2 separate regions of the Homo sapiens genome follow, and region 1 is linked to region 2. Evidence: promoter capture Hi-C in human tissues and cell types (Jung and others, 2019). All regions are on one chromosome and are shown on one strand. Each heading gives the region's core, a stretch centred on a gene start or on the middle of the fragment in contact. The rest is flanking DNA. Distances are from core to core; before and after follow the strand shown. Region 1 overlaps IGF2R (insulin like growth factor 2 receptor). Region 2 holds the start of EZR (ezrin).

Region 1 (6,599 bases), core at 1,254-3,753, 1.2 Mb after region 2:
GTTAAAATGGAACCTCTGTACTTCTGAACAGGCGTGGACTGACTGCAGTTCTCCAGGATAGTTTCAGCAGAAGCAGTGAGATTACAGTCAGGAGCAAAACAGTATCTGAGCTTTCTTTATGGGAAAGATTCCGACTGTGTGCTTGGTTTATATGGTTAAATTAATTGCCCTTGTTAAATTAAAAAAATAGGGTATGTTTCTGCCACAGACTTTGCTTTAAAAGCAGAGATCTTCTAAAGTCATTTGCCTTGTATTTGACTTCTGCTGCTCCCCGTTTCCTGCTGGGCCTGATGGTTTGATTGTAGAATGTTTCTGAGTTGTGTCACTGTTGGACTCTGCTGAGCTGAGTAGTCTCATTAAAGGAGAGTGTGCATCTGAGTTGAGGAAGACAATATAGATGTGGACCTTGTTTGTAGAGTTCACAAGCTGCTTACATAGAAATAGCAAGGACAGTGCAGCCAGTGGGAAGGAGCCGGCTGAGGGACTTGATATTATTTCCATGGAAACCAGTTGGGTATGGGAAGAGAGGTTGTGGAAGGCAATGCTCTGGTGTTTGGCAATTCACACTGTGCAGAAGAGAAAGCAGAACTGGACTGGGAGTATAGAGTAGCAGAAGTTTAAGCTTGGGGAAGAAGTTGAGCAAGGAAAAGCATATGATCTGTTGATCAGCATGATGTGATGTGGTCTGAATCTTCAGACAGTTCACAGCTTTTTCATAGAGGCTGTCCTCAGATGGGTTCAACCATTCTGAGAATTCTGCCTTTACGATATAAGTAGTATCCATGACATTAAAAACGAGAAGAGAAGCGTTTTGGCCAATGACGGACTGCATAAACTACAGTCTGCATAAATGACCTTGGTCCTAGAAGATTAGGATGAAGCTGAACAATTCTTATCACCTAGTGATGCTGTAGCCATTGTAATGTCGTAGCACAATGCATTAGTCACATGTTTGTGGTAATACTGCTGTAAACGAACCCACTGCGCTACCAGTCTTATGAAAGCGTCCAGTCAGGTCCTAGGCCTTTAGGTCCACTCACTCACTGACTCACCCAGAGCCGCTTCCAGTCCTGCAGGCTCCATTCATTATAAGTGCCCTAGGCAAGTGTGCCATTTTAATCCTTTATACCATATCTTTGCTGCACCTTTTCTACGTTTAGATATGTGTCACATGTTACAGTTGCCTGGGGTATTCAGTGCAGCGTCATGCTGTGTGGGTTTGTAGCCTGGGAACAATAGGACATACCATATAGCCTAGGTTTGTAGTAGGCGACACCATCTATGTGTGTGCAGATACACTCGATGATGTTTGAGCAGTGACAGAATTGCCTCATGACACATTTCTGATGACGTATCGCCATTAAGTGAGTGACTATAAACCAGTCCCCCCATCAGCAGTTACACTTCCTGAGGTTTCAGTTACCCATGGTCACTTGCAGTCTGAAAATATGAAGATATTTTGAGAGAGAGATGCCACATTCACATACCTTTTATTACAGTTATAATTGTGCTATTTTATTATTAGTTGTTAATCTTTTACAACTAATTTATAAATTAAACTTAATCATGGGTATGTATGTAAAGGAAAAACCATATCCGAAACCGTATTCCTGGTTCCAGGCCTCTACTGGGGGTCTTGTATCTGTGATTACAAGGTGCTGCGAAGGGATAACTGTAATTTTTCTATATGACTAGCATTTTATTGAATCAAGTTGTGTAGATGGTTGGCAATATAATAGGAACTCAGAGATCTTTATGCCATACAGAGTCTGTCCTTTTAATGGCATTTATTGTGACAAGATTTAAACTAAAGTTTTGTGGAATGTTTTGCCAGTTTTTGTGTTGTAACTGAAACTAAATGTTTTCTGAAAAGTTAAAACCATTTCTTTAAATGGAAAATAAATGAAGCCGTTTACCTAATTGGTTAAGGACTCACCCGTGGGCCTCACACCGCCTAGGTTAATTCTTCACTTTATAATTCCGTGATGTTGGGCAAGTTCCTCATTCTGAGCCTTGGGATATTTGGCTTCAAAGCTGAGGAACTTGGGAGGGTTGGATAATGGCATCACGTTCTGTGGGGAGATTTGGCTCACATGTTAGCTGTGTGGGTGAGAGCCGTGCTGTCATGCGTTCTTAGCCACTGGCCAGTTTCCTTCTCAAGCCATCAGTAGAGATGCTGATCCTGCATCTGCCAGTCATTGCTCCAGGAGGGAAGACATTACTGTCCCAGAGTGACGGTGTCATTGGGGATAACAGACACTTCAGAAAATGCCACCACTGAGCTGTATGAAGTGCCATGGCAGCTAGTGCTGGAGCTGTGGATTCAGCCGGGGAGCACTGTCTGGAGGAGCTGCTGCAGCACATGTGTGTCTCTCCAGCTGTCAGGCTGGCCTTTGGAGTGCATTTGGATTTTTTGAGAATGAGAGAGGGACCATTGGCTAACTGTTTTACGCTCTGAAAAATGACATAGAATAGCAAAGATTTTACTTATTTTTGCTGATTTTCTAGAACATTTTCTGTCCCAGAGTGATGGTTTTGAAGAACCAGCGTTCTTGGAAAGATGGTTTTGCATCCAGAAGAGTGATTTTAACTAAAATCAGGCTGCCTCCCTTGAGGATGGTCACTGAATTTTGTACAACTGGGACAACGGACAGGGATCCTGGGTTGTTTCCAGTGGACAAGCCGCTTCTGTGGGGGCCTTTGCAGTTCTCCCCGCTCCTCTCCTGTGTCCCGCTGGTTTCCTTCAGTTGAGATGGAATACAGCATAGAGTCAGTGACTTTTAGAAGACTTGACAGAGTTTCAGGAAAATGCTCACTGGGCTTTCTTACCTATCCTGCTGCAGAACTTTTTTTTTTTTTTTTTGAGATGGAGTCTCACTCTGTCACCCAGTCTGGAGTGCAGTGGTGCGATCTCGGCTCACTGCAACCTCCACCTCCTGGATTCAAGCTATTCTCGTGCCTCAGCCTCCCGAGTAGTTGGGACTATAAGCGTGCGCGACCATGCCTGGCTAATTTTTGTGTGTGTGTGTGTGTGTGTGTGTGTGTTTTTTTTTTTTTTTTAAGTAGATTCAGGGTTTCACCATGTTGGCCAGGCTGGTCTCGAACTCCTGACCTCAAGTGATCCTCCCACCTTGGCCTCCCAAAGTGCTGTGATTACAGGCATGTGCCACTGCGCATGGCCTGAAGTTCTTTCTTTCAGAAAATGTATTCAACACATTCTTTTGTGTGTGTTTGAGTGAAGACGGTGTTTCCACACAGCTTGCAGATACTTTCTTCCAGAAGCTTGTTTGTTGCTAACATTTAACATCTTACTGTTACAGCTTAGTTTTCTCTTTGATTGAATATATTGATCTCTTTTTTTTTTTTTCTGTTGGCTTTTTTCTTAAGTCTTTACTTGTGTAAGCTCAGATAACTTAGTCTAGAATGTAGGCTTTTTCTGGGAATCTCAGCTGAATGGTTTCATTTGCTTGGCTGTTAAATGAACCATACTGTTTGGAATAGTTTCCTAATTCTGGCTGTACATGTTCACTTCAGGTAGAGAATTTTCTAACAGACAAACTTTCAGACAAAAAATTTATTATTCCTCAAAGATATCATTACATTTTATTTAGTCTGTAATAATTTTATTGCTTCTGAAACCATTTTCTAGTTCTATAATGTGATCATGGTGCTTTTAAACTTTAATATCAAGTTAATTTTAAGAATGATTTTAGCTTAGGCCATTCTAGGGGCTTGGCCTTTAATCTGAAAAGAAATTTAGAATCCTTTAGTTTCAAACATGTGATTTCTTAAAACTTGTTGTCAGTTATTTATACGATTTTCAAGTTTATTATGAAATAGTCTTTAAAAAATATTTACTTTAGTGGAAACATATCTAGTGATAGTTTAACCAGGGTGCATACCAGAGTACATAATAGTTTTTGGAATATTCTTCATAAATTTTCAGAGAGATTATTTAAACCACATGACTGTTTCTGAGCTCCTGTTGATACTAGGGGCTAGGCATATTCGTTTTTTCTTTTTGAGACAGAGTCTCGCTGTGTTGCCCAGGCTGGAGTGCAGTGGCACAATCTCAGCTCACTGCAACCTCTACCTCCCAGGTTCAAGCGATACTCCTGCCTCAGCCTCCCTAGTAGCTGGGACTATAGGCGTGCACCACCACGCCCGGCTAATTTTTGTATTTTTAGTAGAGACGGAGTTTCACCATACTGGTCAGGCTGATCTTGATCTCCTGACCTCGTGATCTGCATGCCTCAGCCTCCCAAAGTGCTGGGATTACAGGCATGAGGCACCACGCCCTGCCATTAGTTTGTTTTAAAGGAGACATAATGTCCGTTGAAACATCAGAATGTTTTAAGTACTGACAGCTTGCAGGTGTCTTTGGAGTGAAGTTTAGAAACCTGCTGTGACCATTCTTCATTTTAAAGCTGTGACTAAGAACTCTGAGATATTGGTGCCTTCGCCTCAAGTGCTGCTGATGGGTTTGAATGGCATTGAGGTTGCCAGGCCTGGAGGAGGGCTGCCTTGTGCTGAGTGGTTAAATCACCCCCCTGAAAAAAGTCAGTGTTTCAAGTATTTTAATAGGCTCCTCCTTTCCTACTCCCATAACCACTTACATTTGATAAATCTTGACAAAACAAGTATGAAATCCAAGTAGAGAAAATAATATAATTGAATAGAGCAACACTTTTCTTTCTAGCAACCCTGATTTCCAGATTATCAGGACAATATCCCTCATTTTATTCTTTTTTAAATCTTGATTCTGCTCCCCAAGCAAACACACTCTTTACCTTATTTAGATATCCCCTTTGCAAGAATGGTGGATTTCTTTTAAGAAAAGCATAGCAGGCCGGGCGCGGTGGCTCACGCCTGTAATCCCAGCACTTTGGGAAGCTGAGGCAGGCGGATCACGAGATCAGGAGATTAAGACCATCCTGGCTAACATGGTGAAACCCTATCTCTACTAAAAATACAAAACATTAGCTGGGTGTGGTGGTGGGTGCCTGTAGTGCCAGCTACGGGAGGCTGAGGCAGGAGAATGGCGTGAACCCGGGAGGTGGAGCTTGCAATGAGCGGAGATTGCGCCACTGCACTCCAGCCTGGGCGACAGAGTGAGACTCCGTCTCAAAAAAAAAAAAAAAAAAAAAAAAGAAAAGCATAGCATTTTAGGTACGTGTGGATCTCTTTAGCGTTGATTCCTACCAGTTAACTCATTTTAAATGACACCCTCATGCACCAATATCATATACTTAGGATTGTGAAATAGTTTAATGATGCCACTGCCGCTACTTGAAGTTTGTCTCTGTTATCCTGGAGAAACTAGTCATGGCTCCTGAATAAGAGATTAGCATTTTTCCTGAGTAGTAGCCAAGTCTTTGTTTACTTGTTTATCTTGTATCCTGCAACCTGGAATATACACTCCGAGAGGGCAGGGCGTCTTTGTTTTGTTCATTGCTGTACTCTCCTGTGCCTCCCGCAGTAAGTACTTAAGAAATACTTGTGAAACACATGAATAAAGGTTAACGAAGGGCAAAGGAAACAAGCCTTTATTGATGATTTTTCTCTGTGCCCAGTAATACTTGGGTTATTTTCTCATGTCCTTGAGTCATCTTGACTCTAGGAGACACCTCTTAACATGTTCCTGCTGAAAAAGCTGAGCTGAGGAGTCATACCCCGAGGGTATCACCCTAAGATTGGGCACCTGAGTACCCCAGCCTGCTCTTCAGGTCTGTAGCTGCTTAGTGGCTATCAGACCTTCCAAGTCTCCATGCTTTTGAAGGCCTATGTGTGCGGTTTGGTTTCTTGGCAGGGGGGTTTGATGGGTTCCCAGACCTAGGAGTTCTTGGCGCCTCGTCTTCCAGTGACCCCACCAGGGCTGCTCTTTCTCCTCCATTGCTGAAACTAGTTCAGGGTTGGGGAGGAGGGCACGTGGGGGGGCCTGGTGGTTGGTTTTGTGCTGAGTCATTGCCTTGGTGCACTGTGGAAGGAAGCTCTGGGAGGTGGACGGCTCCTTCTGTGAGGGAGTGCTTCTGTCGTCAAGGGAGTACTGCATAGGGTGAATAACACAGTTATGTAGATATATATGGTGGTCTTACCCCCAGGGCCTCCACAACTCCTGGATGGGCCTAGCCTAAGCAATTCTGATTTAACTTATTGCCCCTCCTTTTAGCAATACTGTTGAGTTAAATAACAGTTTTTGCATTGAAAATAAAAAAATTTTATTTTTGTAGAGATGGGATCTTGGTATGTTGCCCAGGCTGGCCTGAAACTGCTGGCTTCAAGTGATCCTCTGGCCTTCGCCTCCCAAAGTGCTGGGATACAGGCACGAGCCACTGGCCAGGTCTTTATTTTTTGCATTTTGCAAGGACATTTTAAGTCACTTTCTTCCTTTTCTGTTTTTACTCCTGCTGAGGAGATGATCCCCATTTTACAAAATGGACAAAACATTCTCCCCAGGGAAGGGAAGAGTAGACATTTGAGAATAATTGTTTTCACAGAACCGGGAAACCACCTATTTTGTCCCAAGTATACTGATTGATGCATTAGCAATAACTCACTATCTGCTTTGCCAGAGGTTTGAACAATGAGTGTTAATGCTT
Region 2 (6,460 bases), core at 596-3,095:
ATTCTGCTGCAGCCAGCAAGTTTGCTGGTGTACAGGGCACCGCTTCATGGGCCTAGTAGGAAGCGAAGCTGAAAGGCAACTTCCGAAAGCCAGTCTCCTCTCCCAAACGCCCTTTAATATCTCCCCAGTTGGATCTGGGGCGCCTGTGGTTTCGGACCCTTAGGAGCTCTGAGAACTGGTGTGTGTGGTCGGAAGCCATCTGAGTCTCCCTGTGATTTGGACTTTTTAAGAAACTTCTAAGTTGTATTACTATACCCTTTAAAAACAGACGGAAGCAGTGTAAAAAGGCCTCTAGTTTTTAGAAAAGACCGTAACTACTGGGGAGGGGGCTCACAAAGAAAAAGACTGCAGAGAAAAGCATCAAAATGGTGTTTTCCTAACGCTCCACAAAAGGGTCAACAAGTAACAAAGAGCGGCGAAAACCTCCTCCTATTCCTATCGTCTTCTGCGTGTGAGAAGAACCCTGTTCCCCAGGAACTGCCCCAACACCTCGAGCAGGTGCCTCCCCTCTCCAATGAAGCCTCTCCCGTCCGCCCGGCCCAGAAACTGGGCAACTTACTGGTTTCGGCATTTTCGGTTTCTGGTGAGTATCCTCGATCCCCGAAAACACGACTATCCAGCAGCAGCGAAGACGCTGTCCCAACCTGGAGTCAGAGCAGAACCCTTAGAGCGCCCGCCCGCCCTGCCTCGTCCTCCTGCCGCGCCCGACACTCGGCGCCCGCAGCGCGCTGCCGCTTAAGAACCGGCCAGCCCGGGCCCGGGTGAGTCAGCGCCCCGCCCAGCACTGCGGGCATGGGGAGGGGGCACGGGCGGGGCGGGGCCGGGCCGGGCCCCCGGCGAGGAGGCGCCCGAGAGCGGGGGCGCGCGCCCAAGGGGCAGCCGGCGGGCACTGGAGGTGCCCCCCAGTTGGGGGTGGGTCCGAGGAGAGGGGGTGCGCACCCAGGGGACCCCCAGCATGAAGGGGCTGGTGGGGGGCGCAGGCCCGGGAGAGAGAGGGCAGGGGGAACACTCAGTGGGGAGGATCGGGGGGAGGGGGCGCGGGCCCCGGGGAACACTCGGCCAGGAGGGTCAGGGGAGAGAGCGCCGGCCGGGCGGGGAGGGGTCTGGGGGACACTCGAGGTGCACCCAGCGGAGAGAGGCGGAGAAGAGGGGGCGCGGGCCCAGGGATACCCGGCGGGGAAAGGCCCGGGGAGAGGGAGCGCGCGCCTGGGAGAGAGAGGGCGAGGGGCAGGAGGAACACCTAGGAGGAAGGAGTCCCGGGACAGCCAGCGCGAGCCCGCGGGGCACCCGACAGGGAGGGGTCAGGGGAGAGGGGGCACAGGGCGGGCGGGGGGGCACTCGCTGGGGAGGGATCCGTGGAGAGGGGGCGCGGGCTCGGGGTCCGCCGAGGAACTTCCCGGGGCTGCCAGGAAGCCCGTGAGAAGCCGAGCACTCGGCAAGTTTCACTTTGTGTAGCAACCGTTGCCCCGCGGCTGCAGTCACAACCGTCAAGCCTTTGAGAAACTCTTTCAAAAACTGCAACCGCTCGGGAGCCGCCGAGGGACGGCGCCCAGGCACCCAGGCTCCGCGTTTCCTTCGGGAGAGACCTGAGGGGACCCGGCGCCGAGGGGAAGGTCGCGGGGCCGCGGGCCGGCTCAGCTCCACCTGCCCCGGGGGTGCCGGGCGAGAACCCCGCGCCGCGCCCCCTAGGCTGCCCGCCGCACCTGCCGCCGAACCCCGCCGCCCGCCCGGGCCCTCCACCAGGAACCCCCCGCCCAGAACCCCCGTCCCGACCCCGGCCGCCGCACGCCTCACCCGGCGCCTGCAGTGCTCCGTGTGCTCCCCGCCGCCCTTGCGTCCGCCGAGTGCGCTCGCTGCCCGCGCTCCCAAAAGCCCCGGCGGGGCGGGTCCCGGGACCACGCCCCTTCCCGCCCAGCTCCCGACCTGTGAGGTGCGCCCCCCGCAAGATGGCGGCAGCCGGGCCTCGGGCTGGGTGGGGGCGGAACTTGGCGGAAGTGCGCGCTACTCCCCTCGCAGATGCAAGTGGGGAGGCTGTTTGTCCCACAGCGGGCAGGGGGAAGTCAGGAAAACGTAAATAAATCTGGAGGGGCGGACGGCTTGGGGGAATCGCTGGACCGCTTGGGGCCGGGACCGGGGGCCAGTTCCGAGGCCTCGGCCCTGGGGCGGCTGCACCTGGCCCCGAGTCTCGGTGCACGTGGCCGGCCCAGCCGCCGCCTTTCCGAAGCTCTGGTTAAGTGGCACGTTTGTGGCCTCTTTTGACGTGACTGGCAAAAAGCTCCATGGGATTTCTCTGAAATTCTAGGAATTAAGTTTTTTTGTTTGTTTTTTTGCTAATGGTTCTCAACAAATTTTTAAGACACACAAAACACATACTTTGGGGGCCAGTAGAATTTGCTGCGGGAGAGCTCACTCTAGAAGGGGTTCTCAACGTCTGGCTTCCAGACGAGCAGCAACAGCATTCACTGGGAACTTGCATAAGTGGAAATTAGGTGTTGCTCAGCCTTAGGATTCAGAAACTCTAGGGCTGAGCCCAGCAATCAGTGTGTTACAAGCCCTTCGGGTGATTGTGATGTTGGCTAAAGGTTGAGACCAGAGCTTCTCCTGAATTCCTCTCCTGGGTTTACTCCTCCCTTTCTGCTTTTAGTTTTCTTGTTTGTAAAGCGGCATAATTATGGCACCTGTATCAGAGGGTTCTAATGAGGATAATGAGTTAGTACATGTACGATGCCTGGAACAGTACCTGACACTTAGTAAGCACTTAAATCTATCCTGGTAGAAAGAGAAACCAATGACTTTGGGCGAAGTTCCAAACTCTGTTTCCCAATTTGTTGAGTGAACATACTAGTAGCCCCACCTACATAGACTTGTAAGGATTAAATGAGATCGTGCATGTGGAATGCTTAACTCGTGCTAGCCTCATAGTAATTGATGCTTAACCTGTCTTCCTAGGGACACACTGCTGTTTGGGCAACCCTTTGTCAGGGCCTGTTATCTCCCACTTGCAGATCCAGGGCATTTCAGAGGTCAGAGAGAGGAGGGAGGCCTCTTCTGAGATTTTGACCTCTATTCAGGTAAGTGTATTCCCTCTGAAAGACTGAACTTTTCTTTCCCTTTTTTTTTTAGACGGAGTTTTGCTCTTCTTGCCCAGGCTGGAGTGCATTGGCGCAATCTCAGCTCATTGCAACCTCCATCTCCCAGGTTCAAGCAATTCTCCTGCCTCAGCCTCTTGAGTAGCTGGGATTACAGACACCCGCCACCAAGCCCAGCTAAATTTTTGTATTTTTAGTAGAGACGGGGTTTCACCATGTTGGCCAGGCTGGTTTTGAACTCCTGACCTCAGGTGATCTGCTCACCTCGGCCTCCCAAAGTGCTAGGATTACAGGCGTGAGCCATCACTCCTGGCCTGAATTTCTTTTTTATTAAAATGAAGTTATAGGCCGGGCGCTGTGGCTCATGCCTGTAATCCCAGCACTTTGGGAGGCCGAGGCAGGTGGAACACCTGAGGTCAGGAGTTCAAGACCAGCCTGACCAACATGGAGAAACCCCGTCTCTACTAAAAATACAGAATTAGCTGGGTGTGGTGGCGCACGCCTGTAGTCCCAGCTACTCGGGAAGCTGAGGCAGGAGAATGGTGTGAACCCGGGAGGCAGAGCTTGCAGTGAGCTAAGATCGCACCATTGCACTCCAGCCTGGGCAACAAGAGTGAAACTCCGTCTCAAAAATAAATAAATAAATAAATAAAATGAAGATATAATGGTAACTGCAGTAGAAAGAAAACTATGAAAGATATTTAAATTACCTGCACTGATAATGTTTCCAACTGGACATCAATACCTCCACTGCCTTATCACTGCCTGGAGCCTGGTTAGCCAGTTTGGGTTCCCAACTCTCATAATAGGATATGCCTCTAATCTAATTTTTATCTCGCTCCATTTGAAGTATACTGTCTTCTAAATTGAATGTTTGAAATAGCGGTGCCCCAAGACCTTGAAGAGCATTTCTGAACTTTACCCTTTAGGGGAATGCCAAAAAATGAAGTGGCCTGTGGCAGTGTGGTAAAAATGAAACGGCCAGGTGCGATGATTCAAGCCTGTAATCCCAGCACTTTGGGAGGCTGAGGCGAGCAGATCACCTGAGGTCAGGAGTTCGAGACCAGCCTGGCCAACGTGGGGAAACCCCATCTCTACTAAAAATACAAAAAATTAGATGGGCATGGTGGTGCACGCCTGTAACCCCAGCTACTCGGGAGCCTGAAGCAGGAGAATCACTTGAAACCAACCGTGAGGCAGAGGTTGCAGTGAGCTGAGATCGCACCATTGCATTCTAGCCTGGGCAACAACAGCGAAACTCTGTCTCAAAAAATAAATAAAATAAAATAAAAATGAAACGATGGCAGGTTTTTGAGGCAAACAGAGCTAAGTCTGAATTCTGCTTCCTGCAAACTGACCAACCTGGTCCGTTCGGGCAAGTCTGTCAACCTGACTGAGCATCCATCTCTTCATCTGTAAAATGGAAAGGATAATATGTATTTCATGGTATTCTTGTGTCACTGAATCATATCATATGAGCATTTGACTCACTCAACTTTTATGTACAATTAGCCCTCTGTATTTGTAGGTTCTACATTCATGGAATCAGCCAACCTTGGATGGAAAAGATTTGGAAAATAATAAAAATAATACTACAATTAAAATACCAATAAAAATCCAATACAGAATATAGTATAACAAGTATTTACATTATATTACATATTATAAGTAATCTGGAGATGATTTAAGATATACAGGAGGATTTTGTACATTATATGCAAATACTGTACCCTTTTATGTCAGGAACTTGATCATTGGAGAATTTTGGTATCCTCAGAGGTCTTGGAACCAATCCCCTGTGGATACAGAGGGATGCTATATAATCTTTCTTACATAAGTTAAAATAGTATAAAGTCATATTTGTACATGCATTCCTTATCATGTATCTTACATTACTGTAAGTATGACAACATAGCATTTACATGTTACTGTACTGTTCTGCCCACCAAGGAAACACTTACAGTGTATCTTATGAATGTTTTAAGATTTTCTAAGGGTAATTTATTTTCATCAGGGTTTGGAACCTAAACCCCTGCCCCCAGCACACACACAGAAGACTCAACTCCAGCTGTGTTGAAACTTGAATATGCATTAGAATCACTCATAGTGCCCTTCTCCAGGACTTATGGCTCACTAAGACTAAGTCTCAGGCAGCCCCTGGGAATCTGTTTCTTTAACAAGTCCCCACGTGGTTTTGATGATGTACACCACAATTTGAGAACAACTGACTTAGGATGTGGCAGGACCTTGACGCATATTTCACTTGCCTCTCCTTTTAGCCCTCATTTGTGAAGCTGTTCCTTGTGTTTGAAAGTCATCCTTTTGTTAATATATGATACTCAGTGCCTTGGAAGGAAGTGAGGAAACACTGGAGCCAGGACTACTGGAAACTTCCCTGCTGTTAGTTTAGGTATAAGACCTTGAATGACCCTTCATTGCCGGGTTTCCATTTTCCAGTTTTTCAGCTAGAGAAGGGTAATCCTAAGTCTGCCTCTTGAGCCTGGTGAAGGGCTGTTGGTAATTTCCTGGGAGTTCTTCAGACAAGGTTAAAACTAAAGTGAGGAAGGGCAGCCCTCCCGGAAGCTCAGAACAGTGTCACGGACTAGAACCATTGTACCCAGAACAGTCACATCCACTGATACAGGAGATTTCTATCAAATCACCTTGGAGCCTGTCTCCACACTGGTGCCGGGTTAATCTCAACCAGTAACAAAAAAGTGACCAAAGCTCTATCTAGCTGTAGTCACTTCAAAAGAACAGTCAGTAGGCAGTGGGGAAATACATAAAGAGTACTCTTGGCAAAACAAGGATTGGGGTTATTTTCCACCCTTAATAACCTTGGGGGAAAATGCAAGACGGTGACTAAATCTGGAGGATAGGGCGATGACACAGTGAGAGAAGCATAGAGGTTTCCACTGTCTTGGTAATACTTGACTAAGGTGCCTGGTAGTCCACGGGTTTCCTTTATAGCCTCCTTCCTACCTCTTTATTGGTCTGAAATTTTTATTTTATTGTATTTTATTTATTTTTGAGACAGGATCTCACTCTGTCACCCAGGCTGGAGTGCAGTGGTGTGATCTCTGCTCACTGCAACCTCCACCTCCCAGGCTCAAGAGATCCCCACACCTCACCCAAGTAGCTGGGACTATAGGCGACGCCACCACACTGGGCTAGTTTTTGTATTTTTTGTAGGGATGGGGTTTCACCATGTTACCCAGGCCGGTCTTGAACTCCTCAGGTGATCCACCCACCTCAGCCTCCCAAAGTGTCGGAATTACAGGTGGGAGCCACTGTACCTGGCCTGAAATGTTTATTTAAGAAAAAAAAAAGACAGTAAGCATTTCATTGGCTGAGATGATAGCTACAGAGAA

The links. The method cuts DNA at HindIII sites, captures the fragments that hold promoters and counts their contacts. A contact is called where the count stands out against the background at its distance.
Region 1: a contact is called between a fragment that was not itself captured here and the fragment with the promoter of EZR in region 2, in 1 of the 25 tissues and cell types used here (hippocampus).

Annotation. Positions count from the first base shown.
Region 1 is chr6:159,983,387-159,989,985 of GRCh38, forward strand. The region is part of intron 1 of IGF2R (insulin like growth factor 2 receptor); the gene reads left to right. Among named protein-coding and RNA genes, the nearest start is that of IGF2R, 18 kb to the left of the region's middle. RefSeq lists silencers at 1-105, 1,111-1,405 and an enhancer at 4,110-4,684. The HindIII fragment of the contact is 7,078 bases long and covers 1-6,042 here.
Region 2 is chr6:158,817,523-158,823,982 of GRCh38, forward strand. It overlaps EZR (ezrin), which reads right to left and starts at 1,846. Exons shown (of 14, transcript NM_001111077.2): 1 at 1,795-1,846; 2 at 560-644. The coding sequence starts at 571. EZR-AS1 (EZR antisense RNA 1) reads left to right here and starts at 457. Exons shown (of 3, transcript NR_102425.1): 1 at 457-583; 2 at 2,950-3,071; 3 at 4,618-4,717. RefSeq lists enhancers at 430-479, 4,001-4,100 and silencers at 690-889, 1,030-2,019, 2,080-2,129. The HindIII fragment of the contact is 16,325 bases long and covers 1-6,460 here.